7 separate regions of the Homo sapiens genome follow, and regions 2, 3, 4, 5, 6 and 7 are each linked to region 1. The links are contacts of gene promoters, found by promoter capture Hi-C in blood cells and fetal thymus (Javierre and others, 2016). All regions are on one chromosome and are shown on one strand. The core of a region is centred on a gene start or on the middle of the fragment in contact, and the rest is flanking DNA. Distances in the headings are between cores, read along the strand shown. Region 1 holds the start of POGLUT1 (protein O-glucosyltransferase 1). Region 2 overlaps B4GALT4 (beta-1,4-galactosyltransferase 4). Region 3 overlaps CFAP91 (cilia and flagella associated protein 91). Region 4 has its middle 5.2 kb from the start of CFAP91. Region 5 has its middle 2.8 kb from the start of COX17. Region 6 overlaps B4GALT4-AS1 (B4GALT4 antisense RNA 1). Region 7 overlaps POPDC2 (popeye domain cAMP effector 2).

Evidence for each region. Contacts are between HindIII fragments. The CHiCAGO score rates a contact against its expected background, and 5 or more counts as called.
Region 2: a fragment that was not itself captured here is called in contact with the fragment with the promoter of POGLUT1 in region 1 in 2 of 17 cell types (activated CD4 T cells and naive CD4 T cells); the score reaches 6.6 in activated CD4 T cells.
Region 3: a contact is called between a fragment that was not itself captured here and the fragment with the promoter of POGLUT1 in region 1, in 1 of 17 cell types (monocytes). The highest score is 7.8, in monocytes.
Region 4: a fragment that was not itself captured here is called in contact with the fragment with the promoter of POGLUT1 in region 1 in 2 of 17 cell types (monocytes and naive B cells); the score reaches 11.9 in monocytes.
Region 5: a contact is called between a fragment that was not itself captured here and the fragment with the promoter of POGLUT1 in region 1, in 15 of 17 cell types (megakaryocytes, total B cells, monocytes and 12 more). The highest score is 13.2, in megakaryocytes.
Region 6: a contact is called between a fragment that was not itself captured here and the fragment with the promoter of POGLUT1 in region 1, in 1 of 17 cell types (megakaryocytes). The highest score is 5.2, in megakaryocytes.
Region 7: a contact is called between a fragment that was not itself captured here and the fragment with the promoter of POGLUT1 in region 1, in 3 of 17 cell types (M1 macrophages, M2 macrophages and monocytes). The highest score is 7.9, in M1 macrophages.

What each region holds. Positions count from the first base shown.
Region 1 is chr3:119,467,202-119,470,651 of GRCh38, reverse strand. POGLUT1 (protein O-glucosyltransferase 1) reads right to left here and starts at 1,689. Exons shown (of 11, transcript NM_152305.3): 1 at 1,546-1,689; 2 at 742-832. The coding sequence starts at 1,630. RefSeq lists a silencer at 1,413-1,612 and enhancers at 1,663-1,832, 1,525-2,025. The HindIII fragment of the contact is 3,798 bases long and covers 1,065-3,450 here.
Region 2 is chr3:119,222,564-119,226,013 of GRCh38, reverse strand. B4GALT4 (beta-1,4-galactosyltransferase 4) reads left to right here. Exons shown (of 8, transcript NM_003778.4): 5 at 1,769-1,956. Among named protein-coding and RNA genes, the nearest start is that of B4GALT4-AS1, 2.2 kb to the left of the region's middle. RefSeq lists a silencer at 554-726. The HindIII fragment of the contact is 1,235 bases long and covers 1,020-2,254 here.
Region 3 is chr3:119,714,115-119,717,564 of GRCh38, reverse strand. CFAP91 (cilia and flagella associated protein 91) reads right to left here. Exons shown (of 18, transcript NM_033364.4): 6 at 1,822-2,003. Among named protein-coding and RNA genes, the nearest start is that of CFAP91, 13 kb to the right of the region's middle. The HindIII fragment of the contact is 605 bases long and covers 1,487-2,091 here.
Region 4 is chr3:119,696,074-119,699,523 of GRCh38, reverse strand. No RefSeq gene overlaps it. Among named protein-coding and RNA genes, the nearest start is that of CFAP91, 5.2 kb to the left of the region's middle. RefSeq lists an enhancer at 1,976-2,025. The HindIII fragment of the contact is 7,689 bases long and covers 1-3,450 here.
Region 5 is chr3:119,678,472-119,681,921 of GRCh38, reverse strand. No RefSeq gene overlaps it. Among named protein-coding and RNA genes, the nearest start is that of COX17, 2.8 kb to the right of the region's middle. The HindIII fragment of the contact is 6,506 bases long and covers 1-3,450 here.
Region 6 is chr3:119,272,799-119,276,248 of GRCh38, reverse strand. The region is part of intron 3 of B4GALT4-AS1 (B4GALT4 antisense RNA 1); the gene reads right to left. Among named protein-coding and RNA genes, the nearest start is that of ARHGAP31, 20 kb to the left of the region's middle. RefSeq lists an enhancer at 1,036-1,205. The HindIII fragment of the contact is 6,975 bases long and covers 1-3,450 here.
Region 7 is chr3:119,650,175-119,653,624 of GRCh38, reverse strand. The region is part of intron 2 of POPDC2 (popeye domain cAMP effector 2); the gene reads left to right. Among named protein-coding and RNA genes, the nearest start is that of POPDC2, 8.7 kb to the left of the region's middle. The HindIII fragment of the contact is 5,739 bases long and covers 1-3,450 here.

The DNA.
Region 1 (3,450 bases), core at 440-2,939:
ACACCCAAGTCTGTTTTCAGAGTTATCTTTCTACCATACCTCATCCCGGCCCTGATGTGCATTCTCTCTCTTTTTTGAGACGGAGTCTCACTCTGTCACCCAGGCTGGGGTGCAGTGGCATGATCTGGATTCAATGCAACCTCTGCTTCCCGGGTTCAAGCGATTCTCCTGCCTCAGCCTCCCGAGTAGCTGGGATTACAGGCACGTGCCATCATGCCCAGCTAATTTTTGTATTTTTAGTAGAGACAGGGTTTCACCATGTTGGCCAGGCTGGTCTCGAAATTCTGACCTCAGGTGATCCACCTGCCTTGGCCTCTCAAAGTGCTGGGATTACAGGCATGAACCACCATGCCCAGCCTGATGTGCATTTTCTAAAGATAACCATCAGGAAATTTAGGACTAGATTCAGCGATAGATGGGTTTATTTCCTCAACAATATTTATCGAGCACGCACTGACAGCTAGCACCAGGGAGACAACAGCAAATAAGACACAGACCCTGACCTCAGGAAGCTTGCAGCCCAGTGGGAAAAACAGATGCACATGCACTGAATCCCGCAGTGAGTCAGTGGTTAGGTTGACACCACCTGAGCCTTTCCCATGCGAGAGCATTTTTATTCCCCAGAAATAGAAAAACATCCTTGCCTTTCTGACCACTGCAACCAAAATCTCTCAAGGATGTTAGAATACTTCCTGTGACAGCAACTAAACTCTCAAAGACACATCAAAGAAAAGAACTCACCCATGGTAGCAGCTGCAGTTTTGACTTGAACATGGTTCGTAATTCTCCAAAGACCTGTTAATTTGGTCAATAAATACTTTCCATTTTGAACCTTTAAAAAGTGAAGTAAATGAGAGTTAAAAAAATTTTCCTGAATGTTATTTGCTGACACCACACCAACAGAAGAAACAGAAGACCAAAACTTTCAGAAATCCCCTTCCCATCCCACTGATGGAAACGAAACGCTAGGGAGGAATTTTTGTGTGTGCAACTCCCACGCTCACGTCAAGTCTGTTCCTCTATCCGGCTGTCAGGTGTCCAAGAAACTGGAAAATTCCCAAGCTTAATGCTCAACCCTCAGAATGCTATGGATAGTGACGCGGACTCTCACTTTCTACTAATCAAATTGAACTCCACAAAGAGGATCAGTTAAAAGCTACAGACATTAAACCCCTCTTCTCTTCTGGCAACGCATATACACACACGCTCGCGCGCACGACATTTGCCCCCATCCCCGACCCCTCAGTGTTTCAGGCAGGTCCAGAGTAGCCAAGCACGGGCCACGCCTCCTGCGGGTGAACGGGGAATTCCCTCTCCTCCCTGTCATTCTGAATTCCGGGGAATGGGTTACTCTCCAGGGTCCAGAGCAGGAGCAGAGACCCCGGCACCTCACTCTCCGCCGCAAGGCGCCCCGGTGCCTTCTGCCCAGCTCCGAGCTACAGCGGCCACGGCATCTTCCCGGGAGCCGGCCGCGCGGGGGAGCGCCTCGGGACTCCGGCCAGACCCCGAGCCCAAGGGGCAGGCTCGGCACTGCCCGGAGCCCACCTGACTCCTTCTGGCGGCCCTGCGCTGAGGGCAGGAGGAACAACAGCAGCCAGAGCCGAAGCGGCGAGCTAGCCCACCACTCCATCGCCGGCAGACCTACTGCAGATTCCCCGCTGCGGCGCTGGCGGAAGCGCGGCCCCGCACAAAGATGGCCCGGGAGCCGCAGCACGTGGGCGGCGGGTCGCCCCGCACAAAGATGGCCACCGTGGCCCCACCACCCTTCCTCCAGTCCCCAGCCTTGAGGCGGAGTTTCCCTGAGAAGGCTGCGCCGGGAAGGTGGGGAGGATAAACGAATGGACCAGTTGCCTATCCTCCCTCCCTGGCACCCCTGGGAAAATAGGTCTGCAGCCAGAAAACTGAAGGTCAGAGAGGGTATGTTTCACGGTTAGTGGCACAACCAAGACTTGGCATAGAGCCTAGGCCAAACAGTTCTTCTCTTGACGTCAAATTGCCTCTTATCAAATAGCATAAATTTGTTGAGCATGTGTGTGTGTGTGTGTGTGTGTGTGTGTGTGTGTGTACAGCACGGTTAGACCCCAAAGGTTGCAATTAGCATAGCAGGGATCCCTTTGTAATAGGAATTTATAACAGTTGGGGTGACTTAGACGTAGGAAAAAAGATCAATGGTGTTAAATAAAGTTTATGGGAGGTCGTTGTTTTGGACAGAACTCTGGCACTAGGCCTCAAGAGAGCAGACAAAACCAGAATGGAGGCAACTTGTCCTAGGTGCTGCGTAATTAAACTCAGCTTTAAAAGGGGTCAGTTTTCCAACAAATAGGAGAAGGGGCCCATATACCTGAGCTGGCATGATAAAGAAGTCCCCTCTGATGTAACTCTTTGAGGAAAGTAACTTCAAAATGACCAATCTGCTTTTTGTTCCTTATTTCTGCTTTCTTCAGCCCTTTTCTGCCTATAAGCCCAACCCCTTCTGCTCAGCTCATTAGAACACTTTTCTGTTTTATAGATGAGATGCTGCCTGATTCATGAATCACTAATAAAAGCCAATTCGATTTTTTTTTTTTTTTGAGACAGAGGACAGTCTAACTCTGTTGCCCAGCCTGGAGTGCAGTGGCACAATCTTGGCTCACTATGACGTCTGCCTCCCGGGTTCAAGCAATTCTTCTGTCTCAGTCTCCCGAGTAGCTGGGATTACAGGAGTGTGTCACCATGCCCGGGTAATTTTTGTATTTTTAGTAAAGACAGGGTTTCACCGTGTTGGCCAGGTTGGTCTCAAACTCCTGACCTCAGGTGATCTGCCCACCTCGGCCTCCCAAAGTGCTGGGATTACAGGCGTGAGCCACCATGCCTGGCCAAGAACTTTAAACTAAATTTGATGAAATTTTGTTTCTTGACAGTGGGCAACATGATACTGGACAATATAGGTATATAGTATAGTACAGGTATATATCTTTATACAGGTATATATAGGTCAGTGTAGATATATTTAGTAATCATAGAACTACAAATATTTATCTATTTTCTTTTTTTTTTTTTTTTTTGAGATGGAGTTTCGCTCTTGTTGCCCAGGCTGGAGTGCAATGGTTCAATATCGGCTCACCACAACCTCCGCCTCCTGGGTTCAAGCAATTCTCCTGCCTCAGCCTCCTGAGTAGGTGGATTACAGGCTTGCGCCACCACACCCGGCTAATTTTGTATTTTTAGTAGAGATGGGGTTTCTCCATATTTGTCAGGCTGGTCTCGAACTCCCGACCTCCGGTGATCCACCAGCCTCGACCTCCCAAAGTGCTGGGATTGCAGGCGTGAGCCACTGCGCCCAGCAATATTTATCTATTTTCTAAAATGTACATGGTTATATCCCTAAGCCTTGTGGAAATATGGAAATACAGGGAAGTACAAGATCAAATCTGTGCTCCCAGGAGTTTAGAACTAGTAGGGAAGACAAAT
Region 2 (3,450 bases), core at 388-2,887, 240 kb after region 1:
ACTGTTAGAACAGGTAATATTTCTTTTAGATAAAACTTTGGACAACTCAGAGGACCAGCTCTGCAGTATAGACTTGGTGATAAACTGAGGCTCTTGAAAATCAGTGTGCTTATATAGCACACCTATGTCTGTATTTTAGTACTTGGAACAAAATGTTACTATTATATTGTTTTATAGCTATTTTTGTTTTTAAGGTTGTTGGTCATAGTTATGATTTATTTGATTCTGAGTTCTTGCTCAGGACAGTAACCTACAAGGTATAGTACTATTTTTATGAATAGAAAAACATGTTTGCTTTGGGCCAGGCCCGGTGGCTCAGCACTTTGGGAGGCCAAGGTGGGTGGATCACTTGAGGATAGGAGTTTGAGACTAGCCTGGCCAGCATAGTGAAACCCTGTCTCTACTAAAAATACAAAATACTCTGTTAAAATACTAAAAAAAAAAAAAAAATTAGTTGGGTGTGGTGGCACATGCCTGTAGTCCCAGCTACCCAGGAGGCTGAGGCAGGAGAATCACTTGAACCCAGGAGGTGGAGGCTGCAGTGAGGTAAGATCACACCACTGCACTCCAGCCTGGGCAACAGAGCGAGATTCCATCTCAAATTAAAAAAAAAGAAAAAGAGAAAGAGAAAAATATGTCTGCTTCGTGTTATTCTTATCAGGAAAACATTGTGGTAACTTCTGAGAAATACTTGCACTTTTATGATAAACCACTTAACTGGAATTCATTCTGAAGGAATTTGAATGAAGCAGCCATGAAAAAATTATTTAATTTTTTTATTACAGCTTCAATCATATTACAGGTCAAACTGTGTTCTTTTATTGCCCAGTGACGAATCTACCTCCATAAGGCCACTGTGAGGATTAGCCTCCACCAGTAGCATTATAACAGGATTCTCTTACAGGGATTTCTGAGAAACTTTAAAGTAGCTTAGAAATATTAGCAATAACTTTCTCTTTCTATAGGTTGAGATTTCTTGATCCTTTCTGGCAAGCTATTAACTAAGTCTCTTAGAAGCTTAGTGTAAATTCATAACAGAGGGTAAGATTGGGATTACCTAGGGTTGAACTGTGAAGCAGTAATACTAATTGACATGACTAGTATATAAGAAAGGTTTTGTAGTTTTATACAGAATACGTAAAGGTATTTGTAAAATTTTAAGAGAAAATTTTTTTTTGTTAACTGTGGTAAGAATATTTAACATGAGAGCTATACTCAATACATTTTAAGTGTACATTATTATTGATTATTTGAGTTATTTGTATTTTAAAGCTGCTTTTAAAAAATTTTTAATTGTGAAACACACGATGTAAAATTTACCATCTTAACTTTTTTTAACTTTTTAAAATTTTTGCTATCTTAACTATTATTGAGTGTGCAGTTTAGTAATGTTAAGAATATTTACATGCAATGTATCTATGCATAATTATGCAATATATTGGTTGCATAAATATATGCAGTGTATTTATGAAATCAATCTCCAGAACTTAATCTTGCAAAACTGGAACTCTCTATCATTAAACAACAAGTCTTTGGATTTCAAGGACTGTTTCTAAGTTCTGGAATATAAGTATGTGTGAAGCACGAAGAAAAAAATCAAATGGTCTTTTATTGTCATTGCATCTTCTCTGTCAGATCTTTATGTCACAAGTGTAGTCTCGTGCGTAGAATAATTAGAATAATACCATCTCCTGAATCCTAACTAAGAGGCAAACAATATGAAACTTTATCTCAGGAGCTTTTCAAGTTTTAATTTTCATATCTCTAGGCTGAAGGTAAAAAGTTTAATCGAGCCAAACTCTTGAATGTGGGCTATCTAGAAGCCCTCAAGGAAGAAAATTGGGACTGCTTTATATTCCACGATGTGGACCTGGTACCCGAGAATGACTTTAACCTTTACAAGTGTGAGGAGCATCCCAAGCATCTGGTGGTTGGCAGGAACAGCACTGGGTACAGGTAAGGTGGTTCTGCTGAGGGTGGCTTAGGTCGAGAAGCTCAACTATTGTGATCAAGACTGGGTGGAACAAGCATCCAGAGTGTCATAAGAAAATGAGAAATAGAAAAAATGGTCCATAATGTATGCATCACTTAAAGTGCAAAACAGAAGTTAGAGAATGTAATGAGGAAAAAGCCCTACAACTTCAGCAGAGGATCACAAAGACAAGGGAAAGCATTGGAGAGAAATATCATCCAAGCATTGCAGGTGGTGGCCAGTCTCACCCGCAGCGCCCCTGTCGGGGGGCTTTCGCAAGCTTTCCCACACTGACTAGAATGCAAGTAACTTGTTTGTCTATTCCTGACTCCCCCTCTAGGAGGCAACAGGCTGGTGTCCTTAGTGAGACCTCTGTTGAGACATCACTTTCCAGACTGTGGCCTCTTTCTAGAGTATGGGGAGAGGTGGGGGAGGGCATGTCCTCTGAGTAGTCTTCTCGGGAGCCAGGACACCCAGGACAAGTTCATTTCTCTCAAAGCCACTGTGAGAAGTGCCAGATGCCATCATCTGTGTCTTCATTCCCCATCCCCTCCACCCTTAAGAAGGGTGTAGCTGCTTTTCAGCCTTATTTGATTCACCAGCTCCTATTCAAGCACAACCAAGCGGGAATAGTGACACAGAATGTTTCTCTGCAAATGAAACACTATATTCCCTCATTTGTGTGCACACTTACCTGTCAGCTTTCCCCAGGCCCTGCTGTTCATGGGTGCTCATATCTGTGGTGCTGACTGTGCTGGAGGCCATAAGACCAGTTTGAATAAGGCAGAGCACCTGCCCTCACAGGGCTCCCCGTTGAGTGTCAGTGTGGGGAGACAGGTAGCTACAGTGGAGTTGCGTTAATTTTGCATTTCTGCAAATACAACTATAAGCACTTGGTAAGGAGGGGAGAGAGGGACAAATGAAGAGAGGAAGAAGAAGGCAGGAGAGAAAGAACTGTGAAACTATCAAATAATGCTGGAGATTCCACCAGTATGTACTCTACGTGAGTGTGAAGTGGAAAGTGAGTCTCTTGATACCTCATTTGTTCTGGGCTTCTGTGTTGCTCTCTCACTTTGGGCAATTTAAGAGAATTCTTAAGTAACATTGATGTAGGTGACTGTTGCCTCAGGTACTGACTTTAAACCCCGGCTGTGTGTAAGCTGCAGGACATAAACACCTAGAACAAACTATGGTGGGTGAGAGCACAGTGTCTTTAAGAAACACCTTGAAGGGAAGGGTTTAAAGCTGTTCCCCAGGTAAGGTGGTACCTTAATCTTGTGGAACAACAAGAGCTTCTCAGCAGAGTTCCAAGACATGCCAGAGAGCACAGCGCAGTTTTGGGGAAAATGCAATAGTTCACTGGTATTCTAGAAGGAATGTCTGCGAGGAGAGGCAAGAACTGAGGCTAAGCAGGAGCCAGATTACGCAGGCCTTCTTTAGTCTGATATGGAGTTCGAAGTTGCTGTGGCAGGGGTTGG
Region 3 (3,450 bases), core at 540-3,039, 250 kb before region 1:
AAAAAAAAAAAAAACCAACGTATTTTACTTAACAGATATTAGCTTGATTTATAATTTTAAAATATCTATACATATGGTAGGTGGGCCTCCCTTAGAGTCCTGGGTCCCACAAATGGTAGGAGTAGGCCTGTCTCATAGAGGCTTTTATTGACACTTTAACTTCAGTTCTGCTATGACAGTGTACCAGATTAGGTTGTTTTTTTTGTTTGTTTTTTGCCTAATGAAGCATTTCTGAGCCTCTGCCTGGCTCTTGTCCTTCTGCAGTTTAACGCCAAGTCCTTATCACACCAAGAGGTAAAGTCCAAGGCCACAGGCAGGAATGCCTGACTCTGCTCTGTCTATAATCTTTATTGGGCAGGCACCAGGCTTCAGTTGCACCAGTGTGCAGGAGAAGGGCGCTGGCCCCTCACCTTCAGGCAGGTGACTTGGACCTGGTTCCCTGCCATGCACAGCTCCTACTCACCACCAAAGGTTCCCAGCTACTTCTTTCTTAGGAAAAAGTCTCCATTTCTACATTACGAATATTTTCTTTCTTGCTTTTAAGTGTGTCTACATGTTTATTAATTTTTTCCTGTAATTTTTATGCATTCAGAGCAGAAAGGGAAGGTTTCAGCATATTTTTAATTTGCCATCTAGGCCTGAAAGTAGAGCCTCTGCTTTAAAGTACGGGTGTTGGGCCAGGTGCGGTAGCTCAAGCCTGTAATCCCAGCACTTTGGGAGGCTGAGGTGGGCAGATCACGAGGTCAGGGGATCGAGACCATCCTGGCTAACACGGTGAAACCCCACCTCTACTAAAAATACAATAAAAAAATTAGCCAGGTGTGGTGGCATGCACCTGTACTCCCAGCTACTCGGGAGACTGAGGCAGGAGAATCACTTGAACCCAGGAGGCGGAGGTTGCAGTGAGCCAAGATCGCACCACTGCACTCCAGCCTGGGCGACAGAGTAAGACTCCGTCTCAAAAAAAAGTATGGGTGTTGATAATGCTTAATCTGGATTCATAAAGTGGGCCAGGAAACAAGAATCAAAACTAGAGCCCAGATATGAACATCTTCTTTGTCTGGGACGCAGACTTGATCACAGCTATCTGTTACAATGCGGGGGAAAGTAATCTCATTTAAAAATCATTACCATGAACCAACTATCTCTATGTCCTTGGAGGAATTAGTTAACCTCTCTGGTTCTCAGTTTCCCAGCTATTAATACAACTAAGTGAGTTACATAAGCTAATTTCTAATAATTTCTAAAGGTAGTCTCACTTATTAATTTTATAGGTTCACATAATATAGGCCTAGGCCAGATTTTATTACATTCTAAGAGTTAATTTCTGAGCCTGAAAGATATTTAGCATTTCAGAGATAATGTCAAGTCATCCAAATCATCTAATAAAGTATATAAGGGAGGATTGGTAAATTAAGATATTTTGGCAAATTAAGATAATATGACATACATAGGAATGTGCATTCAGTATTTTACACTCAAAGCTTATGTTTAAAGAAGTATGATTGCTCAATGAAAAGGAAGTGGTTCACTAGGAGAGAGAAATGAGAGGACATAGGTGAGTAGTCAGCAAAGCAACTGCAATATTAAGCTGAAATTCAGCTTCACAGATAGAGTACGATAAAACTACTCACAATAAAAAGATAGTATCTTTATTTGACCAGAAGTATCAGAAAAATTATGAGTCTATGAAGTTGCTGTACTAAGACACTTTATATAGCAACACTGTAAACCACAATTGCCTGTACATGGGCCATTTGAACAGCATGCGTGGTTATCAGCATCGTCATCTGCCAATAGTCAGGAGATTTACCAACTCACCCCAAGTAAGCGTAGCCAGGGTCAAGAGCTCAGGGATTGAGTCCTGACATACTACATATTCTGCAGAGTATGGATCTGTTTGAACGTCAGCATCCCGATAATCAGTCTGAGTGCCCACAGTAGACTTTGAAGGGATGGATAGGTGCTTAGTAGAAGTAGGAGGAAAAGTGTATGGTTCTGCCCTAAAAGAGAAAAATCAGTTTAAAAATTGAAACCTGTTATGGTCACTTAAAATATTATATAATCAAGTAGAAACAAATCTTCGAAGCTTTGTCAAGTCCATTCCTCTTTTAAATGTTGACAGGTACAAAATCATGAATCCATTATAACCAGGATTATGCGCACAAATCTTGAGAGAATTGCCTTGTTATTCTCACCTCTGCCAGGAAACTAAGTGGGTCAAAGTACCATGGTTGACCCACAGAAGTGCCTATTTATATGTGTGTCACTGGGCAAGGTTGTAGAACAGAGCTATTCTAGAATGCTGTACAGCACTTCTGAACCTGTTCAGCATTACTACATTCTCTGGTTTCTTTCTTCTTTGTTTCAGTTCCATACCACTCTCTGTTTCCCTCCAGAAATATGGGAGCAGAGAAAAGAGAAGAGATGGTTTCTGCTGAAAGAAAGAGAGAGAAAAAGGAAGGAAGGGAGGAACCAAGGCAGGCAGGCAGGCAGACAGGCTCTATCTGGATAAATGATTCAATAATTAATGCTGGGATCACTTTGTTATTAACATGTGGGAAAGTTAGCTTGTCTCTTGCAGAAAAATTAATTCCAGATCTTTAAAAAAATTAATGTAAAAATGAGACTATAAAAGTACTAACAGGAAACATAAGTCAATATTTATATCATCTTTGAGTGAAGGTCTTTTTAAGCCGGGCTTAAAAGCCAGAAACCATAAAAGGAGATGATCAATAGAATTGAGGGTAAGTTTCAACTTCTATGCCTCAAAATATCACAAACAAATTTAAAAGGTGAATGGCAAACTTAGAAAAAGGTTTTGGAACATATATGATAAAAAGTTTAAATAGCCTTTCTATATAAAAAGCCCTTGTAAATCAATTAGGCAGTTAAATACCCCATGGAAAAATGAGTAAAGGAGAATTCACAAAACAAAAAGTAAAACTTCTAACAAACATATGAGAAGATAATGAAAATAACTAGTAATCAAAGAAAAGTAAAACAGCAAGATACTATTTTATGCTATTTTATCACATAAGCAAAGATTTAAAAGACTGAAAGTACCTAGCATTGATTATGTTGTGAAGAAACAGGCCTTCTCATAAACTGTTGATGGAAATACAAATAGGTACACCAAATTGACAAGTTAAAATACGCTTTGCTCCAGCGTTTCTTTCTTTTTTTTTTTTTTTTTTTTGAGACGGAGTCTCGCTCTGTCGCCCAGGTTAGAGTGCAGTAGCGCGATCTCGGCTCACTGCAAGCTCCGCCTCCTGGGTTCAGGCCATTCTCCTGCCTCAGCCTTCCGAGTAGCTGGGACTACAGGTGCCCGCCACCACGCCCGGCTAATTTTTTTTTTGTATTTTTAGTAGAGACGGGGTTTCGCCATGTTAGCCAGGATGGTCCCGATCTCCTGACCTCGTGATCCGCCCGTCTCTGCCTCCCAAAGTG
Region 4 (3,450 bases), core at 593-3,092, 230 kb before region 1:
AGAATTCAGGGCGAGTCCATAAAGTGAAAACAAGTTTATTAAGAATGTAAAGGAATAAAACAATGGCTATTCCACAGACAGAGCACCCCCGAGGGCTCTGATTATTTCTTGATGATATGCTAAACAAGGTGTGGATTATCCATGCCTTCCCTTTTAGACCATACAGGGTAACTTCCTGACATGCCATGGCATTTGTAAACTGTCATGCTACTGTGGGAGTGTAACAGTGAGCAAAACCAGAGGTCACTCTCATGGCCATCTTGGTTTTGGTGGGTTTTAGCCAGCTTCTTTGCTGCAATCTGTTTTATCAGCAAGGTCTTTATGACCTGTATCTTGTGCTGACCTCCTGTCTCATACTGTGACTTAGAATGCCTAACCATCTGGAAATGTAGCCCAGTAGGTCTCAGCCTTATTTTACCTAGCCCCTACTCAAAATGGAGTTGCCCAGGTTTAAACGCCTCTGGCAATCTCATCAGAAAGACTTTTCCTCAGCCAGCCATGGTGACTTACGCCTGTAATCCCAGCACTTTGGGAGGCTGAGGCAGGCAGATCACCTGAGGCCAGGAGTTCAAGACCAGCCTGACCAACATGGTGAAACCCCGTCTCTACTAAAAATACAAAAAAATTAGCCAGGCGTGGTGGTAGGCGCCTGTAATCCCAGCTACTCAGGAGGCTGAGGCAGGAGAATTGCTTGAACCTGGGAGGCGGAGGTTGCAGTGAGCTGAGATGGCACCACTGCACTCTAGCCTGGGCAACAAGAGCAAGACTCTGTCTCAAAAAAAAAAGAAAGAAAAGAAGAAGAAGAAAGACTTCTTTTCCTCATTCTATCAGATAAACTATCTAAGGTAGTCAACAGCCAGCAGCCTCCATAAACACATCCGAAGACACTATTACCTTGATTTTTTTTATAGCACTGAAATGTTACTGATTTGCTTATTTATTATATCTCCTCCCACTAGAATGTAAGCTCTGTGAGACCAGAGACCTCAAATGTCCTGTTCACCCTGAATTCATCCATATCTCTTAGGCCAGTAAAACCACCTTTGCAAAAGATTATAACTGAGAAAATTATGACAGTGAGAAAAATCTGACATGGCTGAGTCCATCTTGACTCTAGCCTCACAGGTTGGCTGTCTTTGCTCATTCTGGGACATGAGCCAAGCTAACTTTGGGAGAAATTTAGAGTATACTTTTGTTTGTTTGTTTTTTGTTTTTGTTTTGAGATGGAGTCTTGCTCTGTTGCCCAGGCTGGAGTGCAGTGGCACAATCTTGGCTCACTGCAACCTCCACCTCCCAGATTCAAGTGATTCTCCTGCCTCAGCATCCTGAGTAGCTGGGATTACAGGTGCCCACCACCACACCCAGCTAATTTTTTGTATTTTTTAGTAGAGACAGGGTTTAGCCATGTTGGCCAGGCTGGTCTTGAACTCCTGATCTCAGGTGATCCACCTGCCTGGGCCTCCCAAAGTGCTGGGATTACAGGCGTGAGCCACCGTGCCTGGCCTAGTTTATAGTTTAAATGATAATAGCCCCTCCCAAAAACTAAACTATTTTTATAAAATGAGTGAAAGTCCACAAAGTTAGGATGAAAGGGGCCTGAATTATAAATAATTACCAGCCATTTTTTCGGAGGTCATAAGATTTGCAACTTCCCCAATTACTCTTGAAGATAACATCACTATTATAGAACCTAAGACTGGCCTTTTGAGGTATCTTTTTAGGCCTTTGCATTTCTGACAACCAGATGGCCCCACCTGGACCTGCCAACGAGTCCTGTCGTCCTCCACCTAGGAACTGACTCAGCCCAAGAGGACAGCTTCAATTCCCTATGGTGTCATCTCCAACCCAGCCAATTAGTATGCCATGCCCCCTACCATACCCCCCTTGCCCTCCACACTGTCTCCGAAAAACCCCTAACCTCCAAGCGTTTGGGGAGTAATAACAAAACTCCAGTCTCTTGTACAGCTGGCTCTGTGTGAATTAAACTCTTTTTCTATTGCAGTTCCCCTATCTTATAAACTGACTCTGTCTAGCCAGCGAGCAAGGAGAACTCACTGGGTAGTTACACCAGCACCTGGCACAAAGCAGGTGCTAAAGGAAAATACATTGGAATGAATTGAGCTACTGAATTATTCATGTATTTACCTGTCTGCCATCAGTGACTTTCACTTCTGTCTCACTGCCAATTTCATACCTTCACAATCTTTAAGATATTCCATTTCAAATGACCAAACATCTACTAGACAAACTCAATACATCCTCAGTAAAACTAACACTTCCGTACACTGCAGAAACTCTAATACAGTGATTAACTACGTGAACATTAGAATCAGATTTCCTAAGTTTGAATCTTTGTTCTAAAACAGTTCGTGTGATCTTCGGCATTTACTTAATATCCACATGCATCAGTTTCCAAAACACTAAAATGAGAACAAACAGCAATAATATCAGGGAAAATTATGGGAGGTAACACCTACAAAGGACTTAGAACACAGTCTGTTAGATAGCGAGTGTCCGATAAATGTTATAATACTACCTAGCTTCATAAATCTTCTCAATTTCTCCATTTCTGTCTTCGTGCATCATGAGCTTCCCATTTACCTAGAACTACATCTGATATTCATCTTAAAATATGTAAGAATACAAAGGGCAAATGTAGGGCTAAAGAATAGGCATGACTGTTAAAGATATAATTCATATACTTAAACACATATTTACATTTCACTACTAACTGAATAGCATTTAGTAGCTAAATGTAAGTAAACATGGATTTAAATATATAAATTTAGTAGCTAAATGCTATTCAGTTACATTTAGTAGCAAAATGTAACTACTATGTAACTACCAGTTACATAGTACTAGCAGTAGTATCAGCAGTATTAGTACTGTGTACTACTAATACATACTATTAGTTACTATGTAACTATTACATAGTAACATTTACTACTACATTACATGGTAGTTACATTTAGCTTCTAAATGCTATACATCAGCTTTTGCTACTGTTGGAAAACATCAGTTCAATCAGAAAAAACAAATGTTATTAGAAAACAAAATTTCCAGTTTAAGCTGGCTCATTAGGTGAAATTTTAAATTTACAGGTTAGTATATATATATATATATATAGAGAGAGAGAGAGAGCATTTAGGCCAGGTATGGTCGCTCATGCCTGTATTCCCAGTACTTTGGGAGGCTGAGGCAAGAGGATCACTTGAAGCCAGGAGTTTGAGACCACGCTGGGCAACATAGTGGGATCCTCTCTCTACAACAACAACAGCAACAAAATTAGCTGGGCGTGGTGTCATGCGCCTGTAGTCCTAGCTACTCAGTGGCTGAGGTGGGAGGATAGCTTGAGCCCAGGATTTTGAGGCTGCAGTGAGCATTTGATTTTGATCAGTGTTTTGCAACTTATTGGAGTTTGTTCTGAATTTTGGTTGATGGTCTCACAGC
Region 5 (3,450 bases), core at 532-3,031, 210 kb before region 1:
TCCCCTGTTGGCACTCACTCCGTCCTACCATCTTGTAAAGAAGGTCCCTGCTTCTCATTTGCCTTCCACCATGATTGTAAGTCTCCTGGAGCCTCCCTAGCAATGCAGAACTGTGAGTCAATTAAACCTCTTTCCTTTATATTACCCAGTCTTGGGTATTTCTTTATAGCAGCATGAGAACAGACTAATACAACCAACATTCATAAAACTGTGGCAGGCAATTTGAATAAAATTGCAGCTATAAAGAACGATGTACAGTACATATTTACCTGTGGAAATTGGAAAGCATTTTTTCCTTTGCAGGGGCAGATATAAGGACAAAAATTACCTTACTTACTTTTGTAAGTTAGTTTATACAAAGTAGACATAGTACATTAGGCCAATGAGAATTTAAGTCTTGTAATTCTTATCTCTCAACATATGGTGTCACTCCTTCTCCACCAACAACTACTCACCCTTACTTGGTAAAGCTGGCACACCTGGGATTAGTTAGGCCTGAAAAATGGCTAAAAATACCTTTATCATAGAAGGATTTTAGAAAGTACTTTCTCAGTTGTTGCTTCTGGCATTACCAGGGCTGTCATGCATCCACAAAATTGCTGTTTGGTGCCACTGGTAGCTAATGTCCCCATTCAATAACATACAATAAACATATTCACTGTGCTATGAAAAAATCCACTACAGTCACCACTTCAAGTCTTAATGCCTGCTAATTTAGCAATTATAGTAATAGCAAAGCATTCCAAAGGTTTAAAAGAGCTCCAATTCTGGTTAAAATCAAAATTGATGAGCAAGAGCTTGATATAAAAGGTATGAATCAAACTAATTTCAGAGTTGCCTTTGTAAGACAGATGGGTGAATTTTATCTTTTATTATTTGGTATTCATCAGCCACCTACTGTCAATTTAAACTCTAATTACAGCTCTCTAAAATTATTTTTCTTGGGGGAAGTGGGCTATTAAGATTTTTGTTGGGGTAGAATGGGAAAGGATAAATTTCTTATGTTATATACTCCTACCTTTCCTTTAATACCGAAACAGGCCATCCCACGAGTATAAAAGCATTTAGACTGGGTAGGAGAAGAAAAAATGATAGAGAAAGAAGAAAAGCATAGTGATAACATAAAAATCAAAAGTTGACCTTACAGCTTACTTTATATAAATTATTATTATTATTATTTTGAGACAAAGTCTCACTCTGTTGCCTAGGCTGGAGTGCAGTGACGTGATCTCGGCTCACTGCAACCTCCGCCTCCCTGGTTCAAGGGATTCTCCTGCCTCAGCCTCCTGAGTAGTTGGGATTACCGGCGCCTGCCACCACGACTGGCTAATTTTTGTATTTTTAGTAGAAACGGGGTTTCACCATGTTGGTCAGGCTGGTCTCAAACTCCTGACCTCAAGTGATCTGCCCACCTCAGCCTCCCAAAGTGCTTGGGATTACAGGCGTGAGCCAGCACGCTCCACCTTACTTCATATAAATTAAAAGGTAGAAGGAAAAGTAACCCACATATGTGGGTTAGCTGTACCATTCTGAAGCAAGAGGATAGTTTAGTAGCTAGATATAAATGACTAAATATTTCACTTTGGAAAGGCCACTGGTTGTTTTTTTCAAAGTCAGGAGAATATTTCATCCTGAAGAAGCAGTTGTTGAAAGAGTGTTAAGGGTTACAGCACTCAGTAAGGAAACCAAAGGTTGTAAATGTCTGGAACACAGCAGGTTAAAGAAGTGTGGTGCAGAAAGGGCTGCTACTCAACTTCTTTGCCTGAGGCCTGCCTATATTAGCTAACCTGAGGAAGTCACAGGCAGTGTTATCACAACCAGTAATCTTTCTTCCCTGAAGCAAGGAGGGACAGTGGGCCAAAAAATCTTCTCAATTGCAGAAAAGCTGTTTGAGTCTTTGGGTCTGTTATCTGTCCCTACTGTTTATCTCAATTCTCTTAGCTCTCTAAACTCTGTTAGATATTTATCTTCCTTTTCTTCCTTGTTCATTTCCTATACATAAAAATGCAATAGCACAAGTGAATACAGATCAATGATTAGTTTTAAAATAAAAAAATTTTGCTTTGCATTAATTAATTAATTTTTTTTGAGACAGTCTCACTACATCACCCAAGTTGGAGTGCAGTGGCACAATCTCGGCTCACTGAAATTGCCACCCACTGGGTTCAGGTGATTCTCATGCCTCATCCCCCCAAGTAGCTGGAATTACAGGTTACCACTCCTGGCTAATTTTTGTATTTTTAGTAGAAATGGGTTTTCACCATGTTGGTTGGGCTGGTCTCAAACTTCTGACCTCAGATGATCTGCCTGCCTTAGCCTCCCAAAGTGTGGGATTACAGGTGTGAGCCACTACACCAGGCCTTGCCTTGCATTTAGATAAATTAAGTAGGATAGTAGACAGAGTACAGGGAGAAGATGATGAGACTCAGGATTGCCACTTTCAAGTTACGCAGCCTTGAACAAATGTACACCTCTGAACTTCAATTTTTCCCCAACTATAAATGTAGATAATAATTTTGACTGCCATGAAGATTAAATGATGGTTCACAACCTCGACAGCCCTACATATATGGAAGATATTGCGACTGAAGGTGACATTGTTTCAACTGAATACATATTCTAAGTGAACACATTAGTTTTTTAACTTTTAAAATTTTTAAAAATATGTAGATTTCAAATATTTTCTCCCAATTCTATCATTTATTTGTTAACTTTGTCTATAGTATTGTATGTAAAACCCCAAGCCTTTATTTTGCTGTAATGAATTTCTTCAATTTTTTTGACATGCAATTTGTACTTTTGAAATGTAACATAAGTTATTCCCCCATCCCTCAGTATTAAAATATTCTCCTCCACAATTTGCTATTAATTTCATATTTCAATCTTTCCAATCTAGGTCTTTAATGCATCTAGAGCTCTTCCTTTTAATGTAGTGTTTAATTTTCTCCAGATGGTTAGCCTATTTTCTTTTCCCCAATAATTTGTTGAACCACATTTTATTGTATATTAAGGTTACAAGTGATGTTGATATTGCTCATCCAGGAAGCACTGTTTGATTAGCAAGATTCTAAACAATGTGAGTTAGCACCTAGTTGAAAGAATTGATAATAATGGATGAGGGTGAATTTAGAACATGAGGGTAATATGTTGTATTATTAAAAATATCAATCCAGAAGGAAATAAAAATCATCCTTATTGAAAGTTTTCAGATGACAAAATGGGGATGGTCTTAGTAACCTGAAAAATACACATATAGAAATTACTCTTATACAGCACCAGTTCACAGACACGCCTGTAAATTCCCTGAGTTAAATATCTATAATATAGAAACAAACTTTGATTAGGTGATGCTGAAAGTTTAAGTACCTAAAAATACCTATCACCCTGCAGCTATTGAACAGTGCCTCCAAGTCCTGCTTTAAAAAATGATTTTATTGGCCAGGCGCGGTG
Region 6 (3,450 bases), core at 537-3,036, 190 kb after region 1:
TTCTCTGGCTCTGGCTCCCTGATCCTCCATCCCCACCTATGCCTCTGCAAGGGACTCAGTGAAGGAGCTATCTCCCTGCTACATTCTGGGAGCTGAGCACTGAAATTTTTAAGGAAATGTGCAAAGTCTGTTTACATACAACATTTATACATTTATTTGGCCAGCCAGTCAATAATTTACTAAGCATTGTCTGTATGCTAGGCCTTGGATTCGGTGCTGAGGACACAAAGTTGGAAAGACACCATCCAGGCCCTCATGAAGCCCTCGTTTTTGTGGCAAGAGAGAGATGCACTGTGCAACAAATGGTATGATGGGTATATTGAAGTTGGAGTACCTGATTGGCTGGCAGAGTCAGAGGGCCTCTTAGAGAAAGTGACCCTTGTGGAGACTTGAAGAGTGAGTAGTTGCTCCTGCAGATAATAGGGGAGAGGGTTTTCAGGACAGCAAGAATAGCATTTCTAGAGTCACAGAGGCGTGTGAGATCAGGACTTGCTCAGGGACTGGAAAGCAAATCAATGCGGTTGGGTGTGAGAGAGATTGGTGATATACCGGCTTGTCCATAAGGTGGGACTGTGTGTGTGATACCATTGATAGAGTTGATCCTTTAGTGGGGAGCCACTGGAGAATTTTGAGCAGTGCAGGCTCAACTACATCTGGCAGCAATGTAGGAGGCTGGGGAGGAGGGCGGAAAGCTACGCATTCTTCCTTGGTGCCTTCCCTCTCACGTTAGCGGAAGGTTGAAATGCATCCTGGATAAAATGCCGAACTTCCAGAATGGGACTACTTAGGCTCACACCCTATCCCCATCACTGGCTTTACTCCCACAAAGTTATGAAACCTAGATATGAAATCAGATGGTATAGTAAGGAAATTTAATTTACCTGCATTCATACTGTATTTTGCGTGGAAAATAAATCAGATTAGGTTCTGGAAATGGTGGAGTTATAAGTTTAGCCTCTATTCCTAGAAATGATTTGTAAGACCATCATCACAAAGCTAATTTGCATGCCCCTTAAACTGTATACAAAATCTTGGCCTTTTACGAATTGGCTTGAATTATTAAAGTGCCCTAGCCTTCCAGAAGGGTCACTCCAGTAATGGTTAACATTTGAGATGTGGGTTTGCCATCTAGTGGGCATTTTTGAATGTGTATGTGTTTTAAATACACATGCATCACACACACACACACACACACACACACACACACACACACACACTCTCAGAGTTTCCATCAGTAGTTCCTAATCTTTCTACCTCATCCCCAGCACTTAAAGGTCAGGATGGTACTTTGGACACATCCGCATTTGTAAAAGTGACTTAGTTTACATGTGGGAGGTATGAGGATGTTTTATGATGTGGGAATACCAGCATCACATGGAGGGTCTCTTCAAACTTTGTGTACTTCACATCTGCCTTTCTTGCTCCCCTGTGGCAATTACTAATCTAGAAAAAAGAGAGAGAGATACTTCACCACTAGAAAGGCACAGTGACTGCTCCATAGCAGATACTCGGTAAAAATTAGCTTCCTTCCTCTTCTCCCTATGACTTCTCTCATAAAAGCTATATTCCAAATTACAGCTTTAATAGTTTTGTGTGCACTTGGTGTGTAAAGCACTTTGTAGGCCCAGTGAATGCAAAGATGAATAAAACCCAGTCCCTATTTCTAAGATGCTTAGAGGAGAGAAACTCGTAGTTTTACAACTATATTCTAGCAGGCTATGTCTCAAATCTTTGACTGTAGTAGATTTTTTAGAAATAAGAATTTGGTTTTTCTTTAGAAGTAATAATACAATGATGCTGGCCTAGCATGGTGGCTGATACCTGTAATCCTAGCACTTTGGAGGCTGAGGCAGGCAGATTGCCTGAGCTTAGGAGTTCGAGACCAGCCTGGGCAACATGGTGAAACCCCATCTCTATTAAAATACAAAAAATTATCCGGGAGTGGTGGCACACACCTGTAGTCCCAGCTACTCAGGAGGCTGAGGCACGAGAATTGCTTGAACCGGGGAGGCAGAGGTTGCAGTGAAGCAAGACTGCACCACTGCACTCCAGCCTGGGTGACAGAGTGAGACTCTGTCTCCAACAAAAACAAACAAACAATAATGCTAGTTTTCCCAGACTAAGAAGAAGCATCCTTGTGATAAGGGATAAAATGAACATCAGGGACAGCTTGATTTATATTTGAAAGGACCGAGACTTAGAAGACAATAGGCCCAGAAAGAGAAGGGAGAGAAGTGGGGAGTAGAGGAAACTAGAGACAGTGTGGGATGCATTCTGTAAAGGTTTGAAGATGGGGGGAGAGAGTTTTAGAAGCAGCTACCATATGGTGTGAGATATTGAGAGGTTGGGCAAGAAGATTTTAAGAGGTTTTGTTATGTATTATAAATGGAATCCCCCTTTGATGCTTTCATGGCACTGAAGTAAAAATTTAAATTGCCTTTCTGTTATTTTTGGATATGGGTTAGTGTTTCTTTGGAAAATAGTACCATGCAGAGACAGGCTATGAAGTGGCTTAGCTTTATCTGGAAAACATAAATGTTCAGACCATAAAACTTTAAAAATAGATACATTATACTTTCCTCATGTGCCTTAAACCTAAAATTAAACAAAACCAAAATGATGAAATTGTATAAGGAATGTCTATTTTAACAGTAATACATGTACTTGGTTAAAAAATTCAAAAGTATAGAATGGCATTAAATGGAAAAAGAAAAACGTTTCCTGCTTTATTCTCCAAACCTCCCTTTCACCCCCATGTCTCACCACCCAAAGGTAACTAGCTTCTAAAGAGTTTGTTTTTAATTCTTTTTTCCCCAATAAGAATTTTTATTATTATATATTTTTTAAATTTTACTTTAAGTTCTGGGATACAAGTGCAGAATGTGCAGGTTTGTTACATAGGTAGACATGTGCCATGGTGGTTGCTGCACCTATCATCTGGTCATCTAGGTTTTAAGCCCCGCATGCATTAGGTATTTGTCCTAATGCTCTCCCTCCCCTAGTCCCCCACCCCTCGATGGGCCCTGGTGTGTGATGTTCCCCTCCCTGTGTCCATGTGTTCTTATTGTTCAGCTCCCACTTATGAGTGGGAACATGGTTTTCTGTTCCTGTGTTAGTTTGCTGAAAATGATGGTTTCCAGCTTCATCCATGTCCCTGCAAAGGACATGAACTCATCCTTTTTTATGGCTGCATAGTATTCCATGTATATGTGCCACATAGTATTCCAGGTACATGTGCCACATACATATACACATGTATATGTGTATATGTGCCACATTTTTTTTATCCAGTCTATCATTGATGGGCATTTGGGTTGGTTCCAAGTCTTTGCTATTGTAAATATGCTGCAATAAACATACATGTGCATGTGTCTTTGTAGTAGAATGATTTATAATCCTTTGGTATATACCCAGTAATGGGATTGCTGGGTCAAATGGTATTTCTGGTTC
Region 7 (3,450 bases), core at 357-2,856, 180 kb before region 1:
GCACCTGTAGTCCCAACTACTTGGGAGGCTGAGGCAGGAGAATGGCGTGAACCCGGGAGGCGGAGCTTGCAGTGAGCCGAGATTGCGCCACTGCACTCCAGCCTGGGCGACAGAGTGAGACTCCGTCTCAAAAAAAAAAAAAAAAGAATTGCTGAACTGGTTTGCCACTGGGCAGCTGGTGTCCCAGAGGACTCCATGGGGCATTCACATACATGCTCCAATGCAGGTTCCTGGCTGCCTGGCCCCTACTCTTCTTATCTCTGCCAATCCCTCAGGCTTTGGTCACTTTCTTTGTAGCTCTCACTTATTGAATGGCTAGCATGTGGCAGGCACTACGTATCATATTGCCTCATTGATTCTCATAACAACTCTATGGGTTGAATATGATTATTACTCCATTTAACAACTGAGGAAACTAAGGCCCAAAAACATCAAGTAATTTGCCCAGGGTCTTCAGCTAGAAAGTGACAAAGCCAAGTTGCCTGGATCTACCATTTCTGTTCTTTATTAAAATGGGAAGGTCACCAGAAGAGTAGAGTTTACACACACACATACACACACACACATGCACACGCATGCACACACGCGCACACACACTCACTCACCCTTTTAAGGACTCCCCTGCCTGGATAGTTTGCTGGACCTGGAAACACTGGATTCCATGTGTCTCCTACTACTTTTATCAGGGAGTCCCTCAAGCCAACATATGAGCCAACCCCGGAACAGACACACACCGGGCAGTGCTACCTGGCAGGGCCTGCTTCTGCCCCCACCCTGACACTTGGCTCTGTGATGATGGAGCCTGAGAGGCAGTCCTGATCCCACTGCCAGGGTCACCAGCCACAGATCCACTTCCATCATGTTCCTACCCTGACCTCCGTCCACACACCCTCCCTAACTAGTCCAGAAACCTTCTTCAGGAACTCTCTCAGGCACATGAGAACCTCCAGGAGGGCTCAGTCAGGACCTGAGCCAGCTGGACCAGGCCTCTTTCTGACACTGACACGGAGGAACAGGTGGTGGGTAAGCCGGGTGTCCTCCCCTAAGTTACGCTCAAGAGGAAGGGCTGTAACCTCACATGGCCTCTCAGCCTGGAATGTAGGTATGGTCATGTTCCTCCCATTTATATTTTTAGCGTGTACCTCCTTTGGGAGTAATGAGAGCCACACATTTGCTATTGGCTGTGTAAAGTCCCATTTCCTCTTTGCAAATGTCAAGTGTTATCTTAAGTTAGAGTTCATCCTGTCCTTGCCTTTTGCAATTACATAGTCTTTGTTGACTGAGAGCAATCCACAGTGACAGCCTAAATTATAATTCACATTGTACCTAATATAAATCAATCAGCATTCCAGCACACCTCTCGACAATTCAATTAAGTCAGAATTCATTGTGTGTTCGGCACTGTGACACTCATTAGTCACCAAGAACACAGCACAGGAGGGATCACACAGAAATCATCACTGTTTTTCTAATTTGCATCCTATCTTACTGGACCTAAGTCCTATTTACATAGGTTATCTCATTTAATTCATTCAACCAACATCTGAGATGAGTATTAAAAAAAAAGCTAAATACTTGTCAAAACGTTACAACAGATATGTCTATATATATGGGAGAACCAATCAAGAAGCAGATTTCAGGAGGACCTTTGGGGAAGGATTTTATACAGGACATGAGAAAGCAACATTAGAGGCTGGGCGCGGTGGCTCACACCTATAACCCCAGCACTTTGGGAGGCCGAGGCAGTTGGATTATGAGGTCAGGAGTTTGAGACCAGCCTGGCCAACATGGTGAAACCCCATCTCTATTAGAAAATACAAAAATTAGCCAGGGTGGTGGCAGGTGCCTATAATCCCAGCTACTCGGGAGGCTGAGGAAGGATAATTGCTTGAACCCGGGAGGTGGACATTGCAGTGAGCTGAGATCACACCGCTGTACTCCAGCCTGGGTGACAGAGCAAGACTTCGTCTCAGGGGGGCGGTGGGGTGGGGGAAGAAAGTGACATTAGGTTGTTTTGCAATATACAAGATTGGCTGTCTTCCCTTGATTCATTTATTCACTTCAATAATATTTATTGAAAACTTAGTATATACCAGGCACTGTTAAAAGGATTTGAAATATATCAGTGAACAGAACAGATGAAGGTCCCTCCCCTCATGCAATTTACATTCTAATGGGGGAGACAAAAAGCCATAGGCATAATGAATAAGTAAATTATATAATTTGTTAGAGGATAATCACTGCTAGTTTAAAAAAAAAAACCTAGAGTAGTGCAAGGGAGAAATGGTGGCAATTTTAAATAGGGTGGTCATGGAAATCCTTGTTAAGCAGATAACATTTGAGCAAAAACCTGAGAGAGATGACAGGTGAGGTCTGTGAATATCTGGGAAAAGCATATCAGACAGAGGAAAGAGCCAGTGCAAAGGCCCTGAGGTGGGGCCAGTGTGTTTGATGCACAGAAAGGAGGACAGTGGACCTGGAATGGAGAGAGGAAGGGGAGGGAATAGCAGGAGAGAAAGTTGGAGAGGTGACGAGGTAGCAAGATCATGTAGGGCCATAGCATATATTGTCTAGATACAGCCAAAAGGATTTTCTAAAGGGTTGGATATAGTATGTGAGAGAAAGAGAAGATCAAGGAAGACTCTAAGGCTTTTGGCCTGAGCAACTGGACAGGTGGTGCTGCTGTCAACTGAGACAAAGAAAGCTGCAGGTAGAGCTGCTTTCGGGGGACTAGGAAGTTCAGTGTTTGATGTTAGGTTTGCATCATCTGTGGACATTTGAATGGAGATGCTGCATAGGCAACTGGATATTTAAGTCTGAAATTCAGGAATGAGATCTGGGCCTGAGACATAAATTTGGGAGTTGGTTGTATGCAGATGATATTTAAAGCCATTGGATAGGATGAGCTCACCAAGTGAGTGAGTGTGGATGGAAGAGGGAATGGTTCAAGAGCGGAGCCCTGGGATACTTTAGTGGTGAGGAGTTGGAGAGGAAAGGAGGAAGCAGCAAAGGAGCTTGAAAAGGAACAATCATGAGATTGGGCAAGGAGTGTATGGCATCCTGGGAACCAAGTGAAGAAGATATATCAAAGAGGAAGGGGAAATTGATGGATGCCATGAAAACTGACCATCAGACTCAGCAGCTTAGAGGTCATTGGTGACCTTAACAGGAACAGTCTTTGTGGACTGCTAGGGACAAAGTCTTATTGGTTTAAGAGAGTGAGAAGAGAGGAATTGGAGACAGTTAAGTATAAACAGGTTTTTTTTTCTTCATGAGTTTTGCTAAAAAGGGAAGCAAATTAGTGGAGTGATAGCTAGCCAGGGAAGTGAATTCGAGAAAAAGAATTTTTATTTGTAAAATTTTGTTTTATTTTAAGATGGAAGAAGTACAGCATATTTCTAAGAAGGTTCACAGTCTTTGTGTTTGGCTTTAAGACATTATTTACATTCG